Linked DNA regions of Homo sapiens: region 2 is linked to region 1. The links are contacts of gene promoters, found by promoter capture Hi-C in human tissues and cell types (Jung and others, 2019). All regions are on one chromosome and are shown on one strand. Each heading gives the region's core, a stretch centred on a gene start or on the middle of the fragment in contact. The rest is flanking DNA. Distances are from core to core; before and after follow the strand shown.

What was found. Contacts are between HindIII fragments. The study calls those that stand out against the background at their distance.
Region 2: a fragment that was not itself captured here is called in contact with the fragment with the promoter of SCTR in region 1 in 1 of the 25 tissues and cell types used here (mesenchymal stem cells).

What each region holds. Positions count from the first base shown.
Region 1 is chr2:119,522,527-119,527,131 of GRCh38, forward strand. SCTR (secretin receptor) reads right to left here and starts at 1,957. Exons shown (of 13, transcript NM_002980.3): 1 at 1,629-1,957. The coding sequence starts at 1,700. The HindIII fragment of the contact is 25,327 bases long and covers 1-4,605 here.
Region 2 is chr2:119,577,281-119,582,548 of GRCh38, forward strand. All of the region lies in intron 6 of CFAP221 (cilia and flagella associated protein 221), which reads left to right. Among named protein-coding and RNA genes, the nearest start is that of CFAP221, 35 kb to the left of the region's middle. The HindIII fragment of the contact is 5,211 bases long and covers 1-5,099 here.

The DNA.
Region 1 (4,605 bases), core at 707-3,206:
CATAGCATAATGAAGCATCCTTCCAAGGTACACTGAAGACTTAAACCAAGTGAAGCCTCTCATTTTCCCCTTCCATTTATTCCTGTGATAATCCAGGGATTTCCTTGAGATAAAAATGTAGGCTGAACCTCAGTCCTGCACTCGAGGTACCAGTTACGACAGTCTCAGAGTCACTGCAAATACTTAAGAAGGAGGCTGGGAGGGTCCCAAGGAAGGAGCTATTGCCTCTCCCACCCCCAGCCACGGAATAACACACCTTCTGGCTCTACCTGGCTTTGCACTGTCCCCAGTATCCCAGTTGGCATTTCTCCAAATTGGGAGTCAAAACTCATGAGTGCATGCTGTTGCTCTAGCGTCTTCCAAGGCCAGCACTGCCACTGAAGAGAGGAGGCTCCACGGTGGCAAGGGAGCTCCAAGCAAGCTCCAAATTGCACTCATCCCAACTACTGCTGCTGAAAGTCTTGGGGCTACCAGAAAAATGAGCATCTCCTGAGTGTCAACACTCTGGTCGGCTCCGGGAGCATTGGTTTTCCTTATAATCAAACCAGAGGAGACTAAGGGAAGACAAGGAGGCTGGACACCATGAGACTTGCCCAGGACAGAGATCAGAGACTCAGTTGGGTCCCCAAGCGCGTTCCCTGGGGAGCTTCTTGGAAGAGACGACTTGGGGACCAATTTGGAATGCTAGTGGGAAGGGATGATTCTGGAATCTGGCCCCCACCTCTAACCCCCACTCCCTCCCCATTCCTTCCTTTCTGCTGGTCTGGGTGGGGCCACTCTCTTTATCAGAGATCCCGGAGCTCAGAGAGGCCCGGGACTCCCAGGAATTTCTGTTGGAAAGAAAAACAAACCACCCATCCTGCCGCTATTATTATTATTATTATTATTATTATTATTATTATTATTATTATTATTTTCCTCCTCCAGCCCCTTGCCAGGACCTGGCTTTGGGGAACAGCAGCGCCCTGGAGCCACCAGGCACGCAGACATTAGGGAGCCGCATCCCACACGAGACGGTGTGGGGAGAGCGGCAGGCGGTCCCATCGCAGACCCAGAAGCTCCTGCCAGAGCTCCCTCAGGTTTTCCCATCCGCAGCCCGTGAGTGTGAAAATGTCAAGGTTTGGGGGCAGACTGATACTGATGTGGGTTCCAATCCTCTTTTTCTGACTTGCAGCAAGAATTTTTATTCCCCCTCTCCTCTCCTTTCCTTTCCTTTCTTTGTCTGTAAAGTGACGGTGATAATAGCAGCCTCGAAAGGTGATTACCAGGTTTCAAGGAAAGATTGGAGGCAAAGCGCCCAGGACACAGTAGGCACTGCCACGGGCGGCTCCAGAATTTCCGTGTAGGAGAGTTTCAGAAGCCAGACCAGAGGAAGGGGTCGGTGGTGGGCACAGGGATTCATCTTAGAGCCGCCTTCGTCTGGCGCGCACGATGTTTTTCTTTGGGAAAGGGTCCCTCCGGAGAAGAGCTGGGAGAGATTAATGTTGGGAGGATTGGGAGGGAAGAGTCCCTATTCCTCATGGGAAGATCTGCTAGTCCCTCTCCACCTGCATCCTGCCCGAGGCCGGAGAAAGGGCGAGACTGTCGCTCCCTCGGGTCCCCAGCCTGCAGAAGGGCGCAGTACTCACCGAGTGCGCGGCGCAGGCGAGCAGCACCGGCAGTAGTAGCTGCTGCAGCGGCGGCGACAGGTGGGGACGCATGGTGCCCGCACGTTCCCCGAGGGCGCCCCGACGTCCGCCTGCCCGTGCCCTCTGCCCGCTCGGGAGCTCAGCGCCCCGCGCAGGGTCCCGGGCTCCGGCCGGCCGCTGCGCCCCGAGGAGCCATGGCTGAGCCACCCGACCTGCGGCGGGCCCCGGGACTGCTCCTCCTCGGACCAGGTGGCCGCGCGCGCTAAGCCGCCCGCCCCATTGATCAGGACGCGGCTTTGCCGGCGCGCCTCCTCCACCCGGCAGGGACTGGCGCGGGGTCGGCGCGGAGGCTGGCAGGGGAGGAGGCAGAGGGAGGGCGCGGGGACCCGGAGTCGGCTCCCGCAGGCTGGGCCCAAGCTGGAGGAGGCCAGGAGAGGGCACGCTGGCTTAGCCTTCTACGCGGCAATCCCGCCCAACCCCGGGTCCGGAAAGAGCACTGTCTCTGGAGTCCACGGACAGAAAGCGCAAGCTCGCTGGGGGCCGGTGGGCAACTTAGGTCACCTTTGTAAGCCTCGGCTTTCTCATCCCTAACAACACGTCTGATAATACCCACTCTCGGACTGAAAGTTGTCACACAGTCGAGGCCCATTGCATCTATTCCCCCCGATAGCTACCTTGCACTTTATTTCCGATTTTTTCATTATTGAAGTCATTAGCGCTAATTCCATGAAGTTTCACTCCCATGAACTCCTCCTTTGATGATGACCAAGGAGGATCTGTGGTACACTCAGGCATCTGGGGACCGTCCTGAGGATGAACCCCCTGGGAGGCTATTTAAGCCTCAGGCAGGTAGTCCCAGTAGCCCTCTCCATCGGTGCTGTGTATCCTGGAGGTTTGCTTTTGGCCTCTTAGTACAAGGCGTCTCTTAGTACAAGACGTCCTCTTAGTACAAGGCGTCTCTTTTGGCCTCTTAGTACAGGGCGATGGCCCTTTTTTACTGTTACATAAAAAAGAGAGTCTCACCATGTTGCCCAGGCTGGTCTTGAACTCTTGGGCTCAAGAGATCCTCTCACCTCGGCCTCCCAAAGTGCTGGGATTACAGGCATGAGCCACTGGGCCCAGCACTAGATGGGTCTTGCAAACTCAATTTTCCTTAGTCTGCACTGGTGCCCACTCCCTTCCTTCTTCTCTCTCCTCCTTTCTTGATCTTTCTCCCAGGCACTTTAAGTACATCAGCTCATTTAATTCTCCCTCACACCCCTAGGTGATACGATGTCCATTTGACAGAGGAGGGCATTGGAGGTGGAGGAGGATTCATTACATGTCTGGGTACTGCAACTCAGAGGCTCAGACAGGAAAGCCTGAATCTACCCTTACATGGCTGACCCGACTCTCTGTAACTGGCCCTTACGCAGAAGGCCATGCAGCTGTTAAGGTAACAATGTGTTGTCCTTAGCAGCCTTCCCTACCGGAAGAGACTATTAGTAAATTGAGGCTGGTAAATCCCAGCAGAAATAAAAGGGAGGAAAATCCATTCAGCTCCTAGGTCCAAAACCAATGCTCAGTACACATCAAACCTAAAGTATACATAATCACCAACCCCCTGCTAGAAACTCTTTCTACATAAATACTCACCCAAGGGCCTAATGAAATGTGCAAGGATGTTTGCGGAAGCACTATGACAGTGGCAGGAAACGAGATGATATATGGGGAAAGGGAATCACCCTTATTTCTTTCTTTCTCATGGGCAGCAGTCATTACTATAATGCTCCTGACTTGTTTCTACCCCTTCCCTCTCTCTGTCTGTCTATCCCCCACCTCTCTCTCATGTGCACCCACACGCAAGCATGCATGCAGGCACGTATACACAGGTGAGGCCAGCTTACATGATTGATGCATTTGGAATAAGGAACTGGCATGAGTTCGGTCCCCTCCTCTCTCCTTCCTTTGACAGTGTGCCCCCCTACAGAGAGCCTGTAACTGGATTTCCCTGGGCCAGGCTGTGATTAGTGGTCGAGGCTCTACTGGAACTGGTCCAGTATGAACTGTTGTCTCTCTAATTCTGGGGTTTAGTTAGGAAACCCACTTGCCTACAAGTATAAACCACATTCTGCAATACTGACTTTATAAAGTGATATTTGGCCGCATCTGTCTTGATCTTATTTCTCAATTGGTTCAAGTTTCAGGCTAGAAAGAAAAATGTTATTTCCTAGGCTGCTTGAACCGCAGCACCCTAAATATCCATCGCAAAGTGCCTGAGGTAAGGACTTGCAATTTTTACTATACAGATTTCTGTGTTGTTTGAATGTTTTCTGTAACAACGCTGCGTATGGCTGTTTGGCGTTGAAATAAATAAAAAGAAAACAACACAAAAATGCAATCCGTGCTTTATACCAGAGCTTCGTGATATCTGATGAAAAAACAAAACAACATTAGTTCTGGGCAATTCAATACATTTCTGGCCTGTAGCAAGCCATTCTTGCTTAAATGGGAAGCTCTGCCTCTCAGAGAGTTGAGAAAAGGGATTGAAGTGCTCCCTGAAAGGTCCTTAAAACCTGCCTAAGACAATTTCACAATAGGGGTAGAAGGGAAGAGGTAGGAAAACTAACCATATATTTACCACCTGTCGTGTGCTGGGGAGTCTGTTAGGAAGCTCGGGTGTGTTATCATATCCAGTCCTCCAAGACCATAAAAGAGATGGGAACTTGAGGCTTAGGAAAGATAAGTGCTTGCCTCCATCAGCACAGCTAATAAGGGGAGGAGCCAGGATTTGAATTCAGGACTGAGCCCAAGCCTGTGTCGTGAAGGAAACAAAATATTTCACTCTATTATTTGACATATTTTGAGATGGCTGTTCAGAGGGCCTCCAAACAGAAGTAGCCCTGCAAGGCTGTCTTTTACTGGGGAGATTGCATCTGGAGAGAGAACTCTGCACTGATGCAGCCAGGCTTTCTCTGTGGAACCTCCCATATCCAGA
Region 2 (5,268 bases), core at 1,244-3,743, 55 kb after region 1:
CCTAAGTCCCCACCTCCATCATGGGAATTGGGGCTTCCACATATGAATTTTGAGGAGACACAAACAGTCCATAGTGGGATGTTATAGTCCTTTTTTGATGGTTGCTTATTAGAAGAAATGCCCTCTAAAAAGCTTAACAAACAAGGCACAGAGGGATCAGTTTCAAAGAGAGCAGCAGGAGGGAAGGGGACTGCAATGTAAACAACGCAATGCCAGGAGCTTTTCTGTAATATTAGAGACCTACAAGAGGGGCTATAGTACAGCAGGTAAGAGCTCAGGTTCTAGAGACCTGGCTTGAAAACTCCACTTCACCATTTATTAACCATGTGACCTTGGACCTCTCTATAGATCAGTTTATGTATCTATAAAATGAGGATAATAATAGTACTTACCTCATAGGGTTGTTAAGAGAGTTAGATGACATATAAGCACAACAGCTGGTACATATTAAGAGATAGTACCAAAACAAAGACTTTAAGATTGCCAAATTAAGATGGCATCCAGAAATGGGGTAAGATAATCATTCGCTGAAGGAGAAATGAAGCAGGAAAGAGAATGTTCTTTGGTTTCCTTTTTCTGTATAAAAACCACCCCGAAGGTAGTAGCTTAATGTATTATAACAACAGTAATTTATTTTGCTCATGGATCTACAACTTGGGCATGGCCTGATGGGGAGTGCTCCTCTCTGCTCCATGCACAGCCAGCTAGGGCTGCTCAACTGGGAGCTGAAAGACCCACTCTCAAGATGGTCCACTCAAATACTGGCTATTATCTGGGAGCTCAGATGGCCTGAGGGCTGGAAGTCTGGTTCTGTCCTGGTAGGTCTCTCCACAGGCTACTTGGGCTTCCTTACAACATGGTGACAAGGCTCTAGAATGAGCATCCCAAGAGAAATGGAAGATACCAGTTGCTTAGGCCTTGGCCTTAAGAAACAGGTACAGCATCATTTCCACTGTATTCTATTAGTTAAGTAGTCCTAGAGCCCAGAATCAAGGAAGAACACATAGACTCCACCTCTAAGTGGAAAGAGTGTTGAAGAGTTTGTAGACTTATTTGAAACCTGCCACAACAGGTAACCCCAAAGCTTGCCCAGGCTCGGATTATTTCCTGAGTCTTCTGTACCTTCAGAGGGGAAAGAATGGCACACGATACATCATTGTTGTCCACATCCTTTGATCTATGAATGATTCTCATATCAATGAGCAGTTGACAATGGAAAAGTCCTACTAAATTGACTTAACCCTAAAATGAGATCACTGGGCCTATTAACTCCAAGCTTCACTTGGTAGTGATACCACCACATGTTATTGTCTATGTTATAGCTTACCTTATCCATACATCTCTGTGTGAAGGCTTTCTTTTATCTTGATGTTTCCCTCAAATTTCATACAAGTATAATAACTAATGGCTAATTTATTGTGCCCTCTGAACCTAGTCATCGTGGAAAAAGTTAGCATTTGTCATGCTTGTTGTCAGTTAACCTTCTTTTTCCAGAAAAGAAGCCAAATCCTATTATGGTAAACTAGCCTCTTCACCCCCCTCTCTAGATATCGGGAATTTTTAGTTAGAGTATATTTTTAATTAGACAGTATATTTGATTTTATGTTAAAGTAAGTTCAAGATCATTTGTTCTAGAGAAAGGACAAGAAAGAAATTTGAATTTCTATTAAGTCATTTTATTATATTTGCTTTCTGTAAGGCAAATTTTGCTTTCTTCTAATAGGCATAAAATTTCCACATGATTGTAATATAAAAGTCTACCATTTAAAAGGTTTGAGTTCAATTTTATTCAAATAAGGGATAATTATTTTAAAGTACTTAATATATTTCTATGTATAGCCTTAGCATAATTGATAAAATGTTTAAATAATAAGGTAAGAGGGATAAAAGTTGTAGTTACTTCCAAAAGCACTAACATGTACTTGCCTTAATATTTTAGTTGCCTGATTCCTCTAAGTTACAGAAGAGCTCTAATTCAGTATCCTACTCACTTCTCAGAAATAACAGGCACGAGATATATATATATACATATATATATGTTTCTTCATTGTATATCAGATTTAATGGTATTTAACAATGAGAATTTAGTTTAAAATGTAAAATTCCACCCAGACTCTAATAGGATTCTGTCTCTTTAAATATGAAGAACTTCTAAATAAACTTCATATTAGCCAAAATTCCTTTTGACTCAAATTCATCTGGACTGTCTTTGATTTATGATTATGGTGGCCATGCAAACTAATTTGACATGCATAATATGCACAGCAGTAGTGAAAGCAAAAGTTCAGCAATTCCACTGAAAACTGTACTACTTGCACTGCTATATCTGCTTCTGAATTATGGTACTTGGAATTTTGTGCCCTTAAGGAACTGTTTGTTTTTCCAGACTGGCTAATGCATCAGGAACTTGGCTTCAAATAATTATTATTAAACAAATACCCTGACACCTTTTCTATGGGACTTATCAGAGCTGTGAAATTAATTGAAAATTGAGTATATGTAACAAATGGGAAAAGCTCCAGGAGTTTTTGTTTGTTTCAATTCAGGAAAATGCAAACATGCAGCTTTTAGCAGAGGAGCCCTGAGTATCAGACTTTGCTTTGCCGGGACAGCTTTGAGCAGACTCCTGGGTTACTGACCTAGGGCAACACAGCCTGTGTGGCTGCGTGAGTCCACTGGCGTCATCTTCAAAGACCATATTTGGGCCTTTCAACACTTCACATCGCGCATTACCCAAGGCCTGCTTAGGTTCTGAGGGTCAGAAATACCTCACACGCATGTGTAACTAACTTGTAATGTTAGTTTTATCTACCCAGCGCTGGTAGAATAGCTGACACTCAGTGGGGCCTGAGCACCTGTTAGCATGAATTGCCTTACCTTCATATATTCTGTTTTTCAGAATTAGGAAACATCTCACAGAGTGAAGATTGACTGCATACCTCTAACAGAGCCTGATTTAAGACAGGATTTGTGAGTTTGGTAGACAATCCTATGAAGTTTTCATTTTACTGTTGACTGAAGACCATACACTGTACGGTGACCCTTATTCAGAATTTTTATCAGAAACCTAGGGCCCCTGAACATGAGTATATAAAGTCTGATGCAGGCCTATACCCTATTGGGGATCTCATGTGCTCACAGTACAGCTACGCTCCTCTCAAAGAGACATCATAGCTAAGGAACAATGTTTTAAAAACAAGTACCAGTGCAAATTAATTAGAAACAGGGCACTGCCTGACGTTAGGAACTCTGCATTCAGAGTGTAGATCTCTCAAAAGTACAGTTAGAGACATCTGGTCAGGATGAAGCAGTGTGCGCAAACTGCAATGAACCTTTTTTGTGCAAAATTACTAGTTAGTGACAAACAAAATATAAAGAGACCTCCAAAAAGACACACTCAGGCTCAGAAACAAGCTGAACAACTCCACAGAGCAGGAACAGCATAGAAATGCTGAGTGGGTTGCAGGGTGGAGCCACAGGCTTGCAGGCTCCAGGTTTTGAAGCAGTCAGGCAGTGTTGGAGACCACTCCATGGGGTAAAGGAGACTGCAAGTGTCTCACTGATTCAGGGGATCCGCACTTGGCCTGCAGCCAGGAGAAGAGGTAAGCTGCCCCACCTTTGCACTTCCCACGAAAGGAAGCTGGAAACCCTCTGCTGACCTGTTGCCTGGGCCTGGGGCCTCGTCCCTGGTTGTGGACAGAGGACAGTGTAAGGGACAGTACTAACCAGCTTGTGGTGCAGAGGTGAGCCATGTTACCTGCTGGCCCAGTGACTGAGTTCACTGTAGCACTAAAATAGCTGGCTGGCAGGAACCCCAATATGCAATTATAAAATTGAATATAGATTAAATCCTTTTACTCAAAATGAGCCTGCAAATCCAAATTCCAAAACACACGAATAAATCTTGTGCTAAGAAAGCCAAAACCCAACAATCAGAATATAATTGAATGAAATTAATTATTAAAAACAGTTTAATAAAACTTTAAAATAGATACACTTAGGATTCTTAATGAGATGATTGAGGCAAACTTCCATTTTAAAATGTCAAGAAATTATGAAACAAAAATAGATGGACATTGTTTTAAAGATCAGATAGATAAAAAGAACCATTTAGAAATCTTAAAAATTCAAAATATAGTCACCGAAAACTTAAATCTCAATAGACTGAATAAACTCTATACTGGACACAATTGAAGAAAAGATTAATAGATTGGAAGATAGTAATAATACAGGAATTCACCCAGTATAGAGTACATAGAGGTTACATTTTACATGAAGGGAAATTAGGGGGTACGGAAGCTAGACTGAAAAGCTCCAAGATATATGTGTCTAATAAATTGGAGTTCTGTCAGGAGAGAGTGGAGGGAATGGTATAGAATAATACCAAGCTTTTCAGAATTAAAGATAATTATGAAGATTTGGTAAGTGCATTCAAATATGAATATCTAGCAGGATAAAGATAAATTTCTACCTAGACACGTAAGAGTCAAGCTGCAGAGCATCAAGAATAACGAGAAATCTTGCCTGTAATTCCAGCACTCTGGGAGGCCAAGGCAGGAGAATCACTTGAACCCAGGAGTTTGAGACCAGCCTGGGCAACAAAGTGAGATCCCATCTCTATAAAAAATAAATAAATAAATAAGAAAAAAAAGAGAAACCTTAAAAAGCTGCCAGAGAGAAAAGAGTGATAATCTACAAAAAAGTGACAGCAGTTCTTCATCAGCAACAAACAATTAAGGAAAGATGTGGAGTAAATATTTTCAGAATGCCAGGGGAAAATAAACAGTCAACCTAAAATTTTTCCCAAGGAAGAAAATAAAAAATAAGTTTATTTACGTAAGAATTTCCCACACACAATCCTCACTAAAAGAAAATTTAAAAGGAATATGCCAGCAAGAAGAAAAACATATTTGGAAAGTAGCCATGGGAATGGAAGGAGAATGGCAAACACCAAAATTAATTACATATGTTGGTAAATTTAACTAATTAACCATTTTTAAAAGTCAGTACTTTTTGTTGTTTAAGCTAAAACTACAACTCAACATAGCATATACAAGATGGAGGGGTAAGAAAGAGTCTTCAATAGGCAGGTAGGGCTGACCACACTGTATTTGGGAGGATAGAAATACTAGGTATGTTTAGACTTTGTTGGGAATTTTCAATAAGTAAGACATATCTTTTTTTTTTTTTTTTTGACAGGGCCTGTGCTCTGTCACCCAGGCTGGAGTGCAGTGATGCGCTCTCGGCTCACTAGAACCTCCGCGTTCC